Regions from separate parts of the Homo sapiens genome. Here region 1 is linked to region 2. The links are contacts of gene promoters, found by promoter capture Hi-C in human tissues and cell types (Jung and others, 2019). All regions are on one chromosome and are shown on one strand. Each heading gives the region's core, a stretch centred on a gene start or on the middle of the fragment in contact. The rest is flanking DNA. Distances are from core to core; before and after follow the strand shown. Region 1 overlaps CATSPERB (catsper channel auxiliary subunit beta). Region 2 holds the start of FBLN5 (fibulin 5).

Region 1 (5,271 bases), core at 1,323-3,822, 350 kb after region 2:
TCTGTGTCCCCACCAAATCTCATGTCGAATTGTAATCCCCAGTGTTAGAGGTGAGGCCTCATGTATGATGGGGGCAGTCTCTCACGAATGGTTTAGCACCATCCCACTAGTGCTGTTCTCGTGATAGAGTTCTCATGGGATCTGGTGTTTAAAAGTCTGTAGCAACTCCCCCTTCTCTCTCTACCTCCTGCTCCTCCTCCCTCTCTTCCTGCCTCACTCCCTTTTACCTTCTGCCATGATTGTAAGTTCCTTGAGGCATCCCCAGAAGCTGATGCTGCCATGCTTCCTGTGCAGCCTGTGGAACTGTGAGCCAATTAAACCTCTCTTCTGAGGGCAGTGCGCGCTTCTCAGGCTCTAGAGCGGTGGGGTCCTCTGCCTGCACCCCTTCCTTGCTGGCCGGCATTTCAGCTGCAGAGTTTTGCCCACACTTTAAGACTTAGGGAGCAGAATTTGCCCACTCATCTGGTATAACTAGTTCTGATGGCTGGGAATAAAGGATGAGGACGTGCTGCTTATACCTTTAATATTGAGGCTGTTGGATTTAGCAAAGGTAAAAAGTTACCTGATGTAGTGTTGAAACCACCCCCACTATTTCCTGATACAGATTATAAACCAGTGCCACTGAAGACAGGAGAAGGTGAATAATATATGCTGGCTTTGAAACAGGAGTTGAGAGAAACAATGAAAAGAATGCCCTATTTTATTGAAACACCCTCATGAAGAAAGACAAGATATTGAAAGGTATAGTAAAAGATACATGAAGGTATACAAGGAAGAGTGGATACCAGATTGGAGAAGACTTCCAAGAGAGATGATGCCAAGAAATAAATGTAAAAAAGCAGGCCCAAAACCCAAAAAGGCAAAAGACACAGGCAAAGGCACATCACTCACTAATACTGCAGATGTGTTGAAAAAAATTGAGGAATTGGAAAAGAGAGGTGATGATGAAAAATCAGATGAGAAAAGAAGAGAAAGAAGGAAGCAAAGAGAAAAGTAGAGAAGGTGATGATGATGATGACAATGATGCTGCAGAACAGGAGGGATATGATGAAGAAGAGCAAGAAGAGGGAAATGACTACATTAATTCATACTTTGAAGATGGAGATGATTTTGGTGCAGACAGTGATGACAACATGGATGAAGCAACCTAGTAGGCATGAAATTTTTCAAAAAATGTTTTTATGATGCAGCTTCTGAACATTTGGACAGATTTGTTTTATATTTTATTTCTGATAAGGAATAAGTATTTTTATTTTTGTTTTTTTTTGTACAAATATTTGTTACCAAAATATTCAAAACCACTTTGAGTTTACATTCTAGTTACCTTACAAATTAGTCCCTGACACTCTGACATTCCTTCTAAACCCTTCTGCCATCTCTCTTATGTACTCTCGTGGATTTTTTTGTATTATTTGAATATGAATGTGCCTAAATAATTTTTGCTCCCTTAATCTATGTATACATACATTCTTGCTTAACTGCTGATCTTTTCTAAGACTATTGCTAGTCATAATGGATTTCTAGAATTTGAAAGTTGATATAATACAGCACATGGAGCACTTTAAAAACAAACTTGAAAATAATTTTATTTTTTATTTTTACATGGTATGTTCTAGACTACTGCATTATGACTACATAAACCTACCTGACCTCTTACAAGTACAGAATTGTGAGATAGAGGTTTTGTGATGGAAAACATACACACAGGGAAAAATACCAAGCTAAGCAATATAAATTTCACAGCTCACAGCTTAGCCAGTACAAAGAAACTTTCACATGAGGTGAATATTATAAATACTTGAATTTGGGACTAACCTAATACTGTATGATATATGAATTAATCATCCCACTGTAATAACTTTGACATCTTCAAGTAGTTGGGCTTATGAAAAATTTGACTAAGACATTTAATTTTATACTTTATGTAAGTGTGAAATAAGTTCTGATCATATAAATATCACTGTAGAATGCATGTGTGTGAACTCTATGAAGTGAAGTGTGGTGGCCTTTTATGTATGCAAGCTGTACTATTGATTTATATAAAAATGCAAAATGAACTCAGGTCATTTTGAAATTAAGATTAATTTTTTTGTTGTTTAGAGCTAGCTCCCCTAACTTTATATATTTTTGGGGAAAAAATACCTAAAAACCTCAACCTACAAATACTCTCACAAATGCCAAAGATCTTCAAGGAAATTCATATTATGTATTTCAAAAATGATTTATCAATGTGATCTACCAAAAAAAATTTATTTTTCCCCTTTAGGAAGATATTATTATCCTCTAATGTGAGAATCAGATCCCTAGATTCTATTTCTACCTGTACTATTAAACTCAACCTTGAACCTGAGCTTGGTTGTTTCTGTGCCTTAGTTTCTCCACTCGTAAACAATTTCCTACAAAAATTGTGTAAACACCAACCAAAATTTACCATATATATTCATTCTCTTGCCATAAAGATCACTTCTTAATTTACATTTGGCTCTCACCCTCTAAAAATATGTTGTTTGGAGAGTAACTGAAAACACAATTTTAAGAAACATGTTTTCCTCACAAAATATATTGTAATCTGATTTTCCTATCTTGTATTCCTGTGGAAAATTAGAGAAAAAGTGTATTGTCTTGTGCCATTTTGCAACATAACTTTCTCAGGAAAAAGATCACTTTCAATGGCAATACTTTCTTTAGTAATTCAAGATGGGTGTGAGGACCTATTTTATTAATTTAGTGCTATGTTAAGCATTTGTGAATTACTTCTTGTTTAAAGGAAGTATCAAAAAATTTTAAGATTCTAAATGGAATACATGAATAAAGTAAGCCTTAGAGTAGAAACCTCACATAAAGTTGTCATTTGCAGCTGATAATTAACATAGGTGTTGTATTCTCTCAACTCCTTCGTACCAGAGCCAAATACCATTTAGTTCTCAGAAATCTTATCAATATTGTTCTGTTTACTGACTTATCATAAATCTGCAGATAACCACTTGAAACAGGCAAATACACCGAAGGTAAAAGTTATTTCTTTTTTTAGCTTTGAATTTGTGATGACCATTTTAGTCTTGAAGATAGCAGGGCAGCCCCTTGGGGCAAGGATTTACTCTGGGAGGCACCAGCCATCCCCTTTAAGAGCCTTCTTTCCTCCCTTTGGAAGATCTTTTTACCATGTTAAAGTATACTATTTGTGAGAACATGCAGGATTTGCAGGTTGCTTTACCAGCATGAATCTCATTTTTCTGGCTTAAAATCTGAGACAGTGAAATTATTCCATAGGAAAGTGAATGTTATTTTGCAGAATTAGCCTCTTACATAAAAGTATGTGTTGAAGTGTCTTTAAAATTGCTATCGTGAGCAAAACTGTTTGGTTGCTATAATGCTTACTTTTCTGTATGTTTACACATTAAATTCTTACAGAACAAAAACAAACAAACCCAAACCTCTTTTCTTTATAAATTACCCAGTCTCAGGTATTTCTTTATAGCAGTATGAGAATGGACTAATACAGAAGATATATAAACAGCCAACAAGCCCGTGAAAAGATACTCAACGTCTTAGTCATTAGAGATATACAAATCAAAATCACTTGAGATATCCCTTCACAGTCATTAGAATAGCTATAATAATTGCTTTTTTAATGAAAATAATTGTTGGCGAGAATGTGGAGAATCTGGAACTCTCATGCATTGCTGGCAGGAATGCAAAATGGTGCAGCTGTTATGGATATCAGTTTGGTGCTTCTTCAAAAAGTTAAACATAGAATTACTGTATGAGCCAGCCATTTCACTCCTAGATATATCCAAAAGAATTGAAAACATATGTTCAGACAAAAACTTCATAGCAGCATTATTCATAACAGCCAGAAAGTGGAAACAATCAGATGCGCATTAACTGATGAATGGATAAACAAAATGTGCTATATCCATTCAGTGGTGTCAAAGGAAAATATCTTGGGCCCCCAATATCACTAAGGAAAATTCAAGCTGGGAACTGCTTAGGGCAAACCTGCCTCCTTTTCTATTCAAAGTCACTCCTTTGCTCACTGAGATAGATTCATATCTGATTTGCCTCCTTTGGAAAGGCTAATCAGAAACTCAAAAGAATGTAACCATTTGTGTATCACCTTTCTGTGACCTGGAAGCTCCCTCCCCACTTGAGTCTTGGTGCCTTTGCTTCAAGTTGTCCTCCCCTTCCAGACTGAACCAATGTACTTCTTATATATATTGATTGACGTCTCATGTCTCCCTAAACGTATAAAACCAAGCTTTGCCCTGACCACCTTGGGCAGATGTTGTCAGGACTTCCTGCGGCTGTGTCACGGGTGCATCCTCAACCCTGGCAAAATAAAAATAAACTTTCTTTTTTTTTTTTTTTGCTCTGCCGCCCAGGCTGGAGTGCAGTGGCACAATCTCAGCTCACTGCAAGCTCCGCTTCCCAGGTTCACGCCATTCTCCTGCCTCAGCCTCCCAAGTAGCTGGGACTACAGGCGCCCGCCACCACACCCAGCTAATTTTTTGTATTTTTAGTAGAGACGGGGTTTCACCGCGTTAGCCAGGATGGTCTCAATCTCCTGACTTCGTGATCCGCCCGCCTCGGCCTCCCAAAGTGCTGGGATTACAGCGTGAGCCATCGTGCCCGGCCGGCAAAGTAAACTTTCTAAATTAACTGAGACCTGTCTCAGATTTTCTAGGTTCACATTTTGGTAACCACGAAGGGGTTCTGAATGGAGATGCCCCTGACCTTTGACAAATCTCTTATCAGTGCCTGGTACCAGCATGAGCTAACTTTATGGATCAAACCAATACGACAATTTGCTGAGGTCTGAGAGCACCCCTCCAATGAATCCCTGATATCCCAAAATTTGGTCAGTCTGATACACAGACAATAAGGAGGTTTGTTTTGGGAAAGGACTGTTATCTTTGTTTAAAAGCTAAACTATAAACCAAGTTCCTTCCAAAGTTAGTTCATCCTATGCCCAGGAATGAACAAGGACAGCTTACAGGTTAAGAGCAGTATGGAATCAGTTAGGTCAAATCTTTTTCCTTTTTTTTTTTTTTTTTTTGAGACAGAGTCTTGCTCTGTTGCCCAGGCTGGAGTGCAGTGGTGCGATCTCGGCTCACTGCAAGCTCCACCTCCCAGGTTCACGCCATTCCCCTGCCTCAGCCTCCCAAGTAGCTGGGACTACAAGCGCCTGCCACCACGCCTGGCTAATTTTTTGTATTTTTAGTAGAGATGGGGTTTCACCATGTTAGCCAGGATGGTCTTGATCTCCTGACC
Region 2 (5,832 bases), core at 2,139-4,638:
AGAGAAAGATCTTAAACAGTGGATAAAAATGTAATATGGACATATGTAAAACCTTGTGCTTGCTTAAAAATAATTTGCAGTCCAAGTACAGGGTGGAGGAGATGCTGTTACGTAGCCTGTGCATTACAGGTTGCTTTTGTTGGTGCAAATTCAGTATGAATCAAGAGACAGAAACTGCCAGAGGAGATGAACAGGCTGCCTTGGGGTCACAGGGCACATGAGGAGCAGCTGAAAGCCCCTGGGATGTTCAGCCTGGAGATGAGAATAGTAGCGTGGGCGAGGAGTGGAAGGGTAATAGGAAGCTTGTTGTTTCCAAGTTGGGGGGCCCCTGGCTTTAGAGGGGAGAATTAGATTCCATGAACAGTAATTACATACAGGGAAGTGGATTTGGGTTCAACTGAAGAGAGAATTTTCTAACAGTTTGAGTTATTCAATAGTGAGATGGGCTGTTTTGTGGCGCTGTGATTTCCTCGTCCACAGAAGTGGATAATTTACTATTTATTAAGGATATTTTGGAGGGCATTGTGTAGGGAATGGGAACGTGGACACAGTGAAAATCAAGAGGATAACTGTTATTTCATTCCCGCAACAACCCTGGCGATGTTATCATCGCCATCTTGCAGATGAGAAAACTGAGATGTCGAGAGGGTAGGAGGAAAAACCAAGACTTGGACCCAAGTGTTTTATGGCAGTCTTCGTTTTCTCCCCCTTTCCAACCCTACAATTTTAAGATGGAAACAATCTCTCATCCAAGATGGGTCCCGGGACAGTTTTGCTTCCAACGGTCTCAATTTGCCTATGTAGGAAACAGGTATATTGATTTCCTCTCCTTCCGTGTTCTTCAAGAAGGTTGACAGTATCTGCGAGGTGAATGGACTGAGTCCCTTAAAACTCTTCCTACCCCCACAACTAGTTCTACATCAGATATTTTAAGTTTTATTATTTTGAATATTACTCATATTTTGAATAGGTAATACAGGTACAAGGTACAAAATTCAAGTTATGCCAAAAAGTGAGCAATGAGGAGCGAATTTTCCTCTCCTATTTCTTTTCCAATTGTCTGCCTGATTTCCCTCCTAGGAGATGGTTACAGACCATATGTTTAAACCCCCAGATTCATATGTTGAAATCTGAATCCCCAAGGTGATGGCTCTAGGAGATGAGGCCTTCAGCAGGTGATTAGATCATGAGGGTGAAGCTCTCACGAATGGGACCAGTGCCCTTATAAAAGGAATCCCAGTCTCTGGCCAGGCGCGGTGGCTCAAGCCTGTAATCTCAGCATTTTGGGAGGCCGAGGCCCATGGATTGCTTGAGCCCAGGAGTTCAAGACCAGCCTGGCCAACATGGCAAAACCCCATCTCTACTAAAAATACAAAAATTAGCCAGGCACGGTGGTGCGTGCCTATAATCCCAGCTACTTGGGAGGCTGAAGCAGGAGAATTGCCTGAACTTGGGAGGTAGAACTTGCAGTGAGCCGAGATTACACCACCATACTCCAGCCTGGGCGAGAGAGTGAGACTCCATCTCAAAAAAAGGAACCCTAGTCTCCCTCTCTCCATCATGTGAGGACATAGCAAGAAGACAGTCATCTGCAACCAGGAGAGGACCCTCATGAGAACCTGGCTATGCCCACACCCTGATCTCAGACTTCCAGCCTCCAGAACTGGGAGAGATAAATGTTATTGCATAAACCACCCAGTCTATGGTATTCTGTTATAGCAGCCTGAGCTAAGACCAATAATACTCATGGTTTCTTGTGCATCCTTCAGGTGATGTCTTTTCTGTACGTGTACAAGCAAGAACTTATGTATTTATTTTTTTTCCCACAAATGATGGCATGCTTTACACACAGTTCTGCAGCTTACTTTTTACATTTATTACTATATTAGATCAATCTATGTGAAATTACCAATATTCTACTGTTTTGACCCACAAAATATATTGGAAACCCTTCAATAGCAGTGCATACGGAGCTGTTTCAGTCTTTTTTTCAAAATAAGATATAACATACATAAGACTTCACAAATATTAAATGTACACACCCCTACATAACCAGCATCCAGATCAATCATTAGATTATTACCAGCACCCAGAAGGGGCTGGGCTGCCTCCCAGTCACTATCTGACTTTGAATTTTATATAAATGGAGTCGTTTGATGTGGACTCTTAAGTGTCTAGGTTTTAATTGGTTGCACAATAGTCCCTTTGGAAGCCCCTTACTTTATTTAACCCTATTGGTGCCTTGCTGATCGACCTTAAAGGTGTTTATAATCTTTTGCTTTTACAAACAATGGGGGGATGAACAACCTTATAAACATAAGGTATTTAAAAAAGTGTTTTACAGGAAATTTCAAACACGTAAAAGGAAATAGATTAGACTAGTATAATGGACACAGCTTCAACAACTATCCACATTCTGTTATTCTCCTTTGGGTAGAATTCCATTTACTTACCCCCAAAAATGCCTTAGGGAAGGCTAAATATGTAGACTCCAGAGGCTCAGCTGTACCAATGAATAGCTGCGTGACTATGGGGAGGTTACCTAACCTCTCTTATCTTCACCTCTAATAACATGGAGATGATCATTCCTACTGCTTAGAGTGGTGGTGAGGACAGGGGACCTGGATCAGGGCTTTTCGGCTGCAGGTAGGAAGATGCAGGTGGAAGCAGATGGGATAGGCCACAGTCCATCCACTGGCGTTTTATAGAGTGAGTGCCTTCTGTAAGATTTCATTGACAAAAGTACTCCAATGGCTTAAAAACAAACAAACAAACAAACAAACAAACAGGAAAAAGAAACAGGTTGAAGCCTCCACTAGAATGAATGCAAAGGACTCAGCATGTCTTATGTGCTGTCTCCACCATTCTGCTTTTCCAGACTGTCCCTTCTTCAAATCACCGTTTAACTTGTTAAAATCACTTTCGAGCCAGGGGACACTTTTCCAGGAAAGCGAGAAAATGCCAGGGAGAATCGGGGAATGAGGGCGGGGAGAGAAAAGCGTCCTAAGACTTGCATTGCACAAGCTGAAGTCTGGAATTCGCACCAGCGGGATTCCATCCTCTTCCCCCCCACCCCACCCCGCTGCTCCCCACCCCTTCTTCGGGAAGATCGCGACTCTCCCGTCGCTCGCCCCAAGCCTCTGCTTCGTAGGTTCTGGTTTCCCAATCGATCGTGAGTTTCTAGTCCCTGGAGCTGCGTGGGTCGTGAGTTCAAGTCCCTTTCCTTCCGGAGGCGACAACGTTCTCGCGGGTCCCCTTGCCACGCAGCGCGGGCGTGCACGCCCCTCCCCGCCGGGCCGCGCTGCCAGCCCCGCCCCGCCCCTGGGTGGGAAGGTCAAGGGGCCCGGGCCCTCCCAGCCCCCGCACCCCTGCGCGCGCCCGCCCCTCGCCTTCTGCCCGGGCGCTCGCAGCCGAGCGCGGCCGGGGAAGGGCTCTCCTCCCAGCGCCGAGCACTGGGCCCTGGCAGACGCCCCAAGATTGTTGTGAGGAGTCTAGCCAGTTGGTGAGCGCTGTAATCTGAACCAGCTGTGTCCAGACTGAGGCCCCATTTGCATTGTTTAACATACTTAGAAAATGAAGTGTTCATTTTTAACATTCCTCCTCCAATTGGTTTAATGCTGAATTACTGAAGAGGGCTAAGCAAAACCAGGTGCTTGCGCTGAGGGCTCTGCAGTGGCTGGGAGGACCCCGGCGCTCTCCCCGTGTCCTCTCCACGACTCGCTCGGCCCCTCTGGAATAAAACACCCGCGAGCCCCGAGGGCCCAGAGGAGGCCGACGTGCCCGAGCTCCTCCGGGGGTCCCGCCCGCGAGCTTTCTTCTCGCCTTCGCATCTCCTCCTCGCGCGTCTTGGACATGCCAGGAATAAAAAGGTGGGTTCTCGGCGCTGGACTTTTCTTTCTCCAGGGTCTGGAAGCCTTGCTAAAAATCCGATGGGTGGAAAATGGTTATGGCTGCGATTCAGGCGGTGTCAGGATATTGGAAAAGGCATGAGCTAGTGATGCAATGATATTGTTAATTATAAAAAGCTGCGCCTCTGTAATTTCCATCTTGAAGCGTTCTTTTGGGAGTGGGTATTTTCTAATACAGTTTCAAAAGCCAGCATCAGAGAGGGCTGCGAAATTCTCAGCGCTTCATTCCTCTTTCTTTTCTGGAAAGGGCAGCAACTTTGTCGTTTTAAGGGATTTTTGTATGTATTTTTTAAATTTCGGGAGGCCAATTACTAGTTCACTAGCAATTACTGCGCCGCATCGGCTGATAGACAAGCAGACAGGCTAGCTGAACACCGCGGGGCTGGATTTGCTCTATGTTTGTGTGGGATTCTCACAGAAGTTTCAAGCCAATGAGAAGTGGGAACTGCAGACAGAGATACATGTAAGCAAATGTTTTGCTATTCTTTAAGGAAATTGCAATTACAGTTAAGTAATCCTTAAGTCTTGGAGAACTTTACCTAAATGACACCCACAGTCTTTATTCAGCGAGCTCTTGAAAACATACTGCTTTGAACAAATTAACCTTGTGTGCGTATGTATGTGTCTGTGGGGTGTGTGTGTGTGTGTGTGTGTGCTGAAAACTAAGCTGTAACAATGTCATCCTGGATTGGGGACCAGCACTTCTGTGACAGGCAGTCCTGGTATTTGGTTGGTCTCTCCGGCTTTCCTTGTGTTTCAGGCTGAGGCACAACACCGGCGAACCCACCTGCTTTAGAAAGTTCCCAGGACCGGTTATGAGCACCAACCTGCCTCCCCCCAGCTATTCTTATAGTTAGTTCATTTTTGGAGTTTCCAGGGTTTTTTTTTTTTAATCACAAGGTGCAGCTATTCGTGATGCTGTGAGGCAGTAGTGCTTGGGTATTCTTTCATTTTAGGAAAATCCTATTAGCCTGGAACCTGTTTGGCCCCCAGGACTCAGCTGTGGCTCTTCCAAGAGGCTGGGCTTGAGGCAAGACCTGTCCCAGGGCTGCCTCTAGCCAAAGGGAATGGGGCTGCGGGGAGTAGGGGGAAAGATGGGGTTAGCATGCCTTTTCAACTAGCTCTTGAAGTCCACTGTGTTGCAGTCAGCCTGTTCTTTCTCCAACATAAACGAGACAGGGTTTTATAACCAACTGAAAGGAAACTTCATGTGAAGAAACAGGAAAACATTGAAATTCATAATACACAGACTGGAAAATAAATTTGTTATTGTTCTTTCATTCCTTCCAGATATAAATCTGGCCATGGCAAATATCAAAAAGCCCTGGGATTTGGCTCTGCACTTTATAAGGTCAGAGCTGTCTCCAGCGTTCTAGAATCTGGCTCACCCAGGCACTTACATGAAAACTTGTGGACTCTCAGCGTCCTTATTTTTTGGATTGGGGACTCGATAAAGGAAATGGCCTCGCATCTCCTAAGATCGTATCAGGGCCCTATTCCCTCTGGATGTCAGCTTAACTCCAGGTCCTCTAATACCCAGGGTTGCTGATGCAGATGGGCCATGTGTCCTGAAAGGGAGGGATTATATTGTTGTGGTGCACGTTTGTAGTAACGGGCCCCAGAATTCAGCCATGTCCCCAGGTTCACTGCTCTGTTGAAGAAGCCTTCAAGATCACCTTCTCCAGGAAGTCTTGTTGCTACCCACAGCCTGGTTGTTATGGCACCCAATAGGTATTTCTTTCCATGCCCTTGCCAAGGTGTATGGACATTGTCGTGGCTCCCCAACTGGTTCTCAAGGGTAGTGGTTGTTTCACAGTTCTGTAGCTCCTCCATCTGGCATCCACACCCACAAGCAGTAGTTGCTTGGATAAACTGCTGTTGAACTGAATAATAGTACTAGATAACGCTCTGCTTTTGTTTAGAT

What was found. Contacts are between HindIII fragments. The study calls those that stand out against the background at their distance.
Region 1: a fragment that was not itself captured here is called in contact with the fragment with the promoter of FBLN5 in region 2 in 3 of the 25 tissues and cell types used here (aorta, lymphoblastoid cells and neural progenitor cells).

What each region holds. Positions count from the first base shown.
Region 1 is chr14:91,598,643-91,603,913 of GRCh38, reverse strand. All of the region lies in intron 22 of CATSPERB (catsper channel auxiliary subunit beta), which reads left to right. It also overlaps the pseudogene POLR3GP1. Among named protein-coding and RNA genes, the nearest start is that of PPP4R3A, 91 kb to the right of the region's middle. The HindIII fragment of the contact is 7,277 bases long and covers 1-5,271 here.
Region 2 is chr14:91,945,250-91,951,081 of GRCh38, reverse strand. It overlaps FBLN5 (fibulin 5), which reads left to right and starts at 3,388. Exons shown (of 11, transcript NM_006329.4): 1 at 3,388-3,869. The coding sequence starts at 3,853. The HindIII fragment of the contact is 12,789 bases long and covers 1-5,832 here.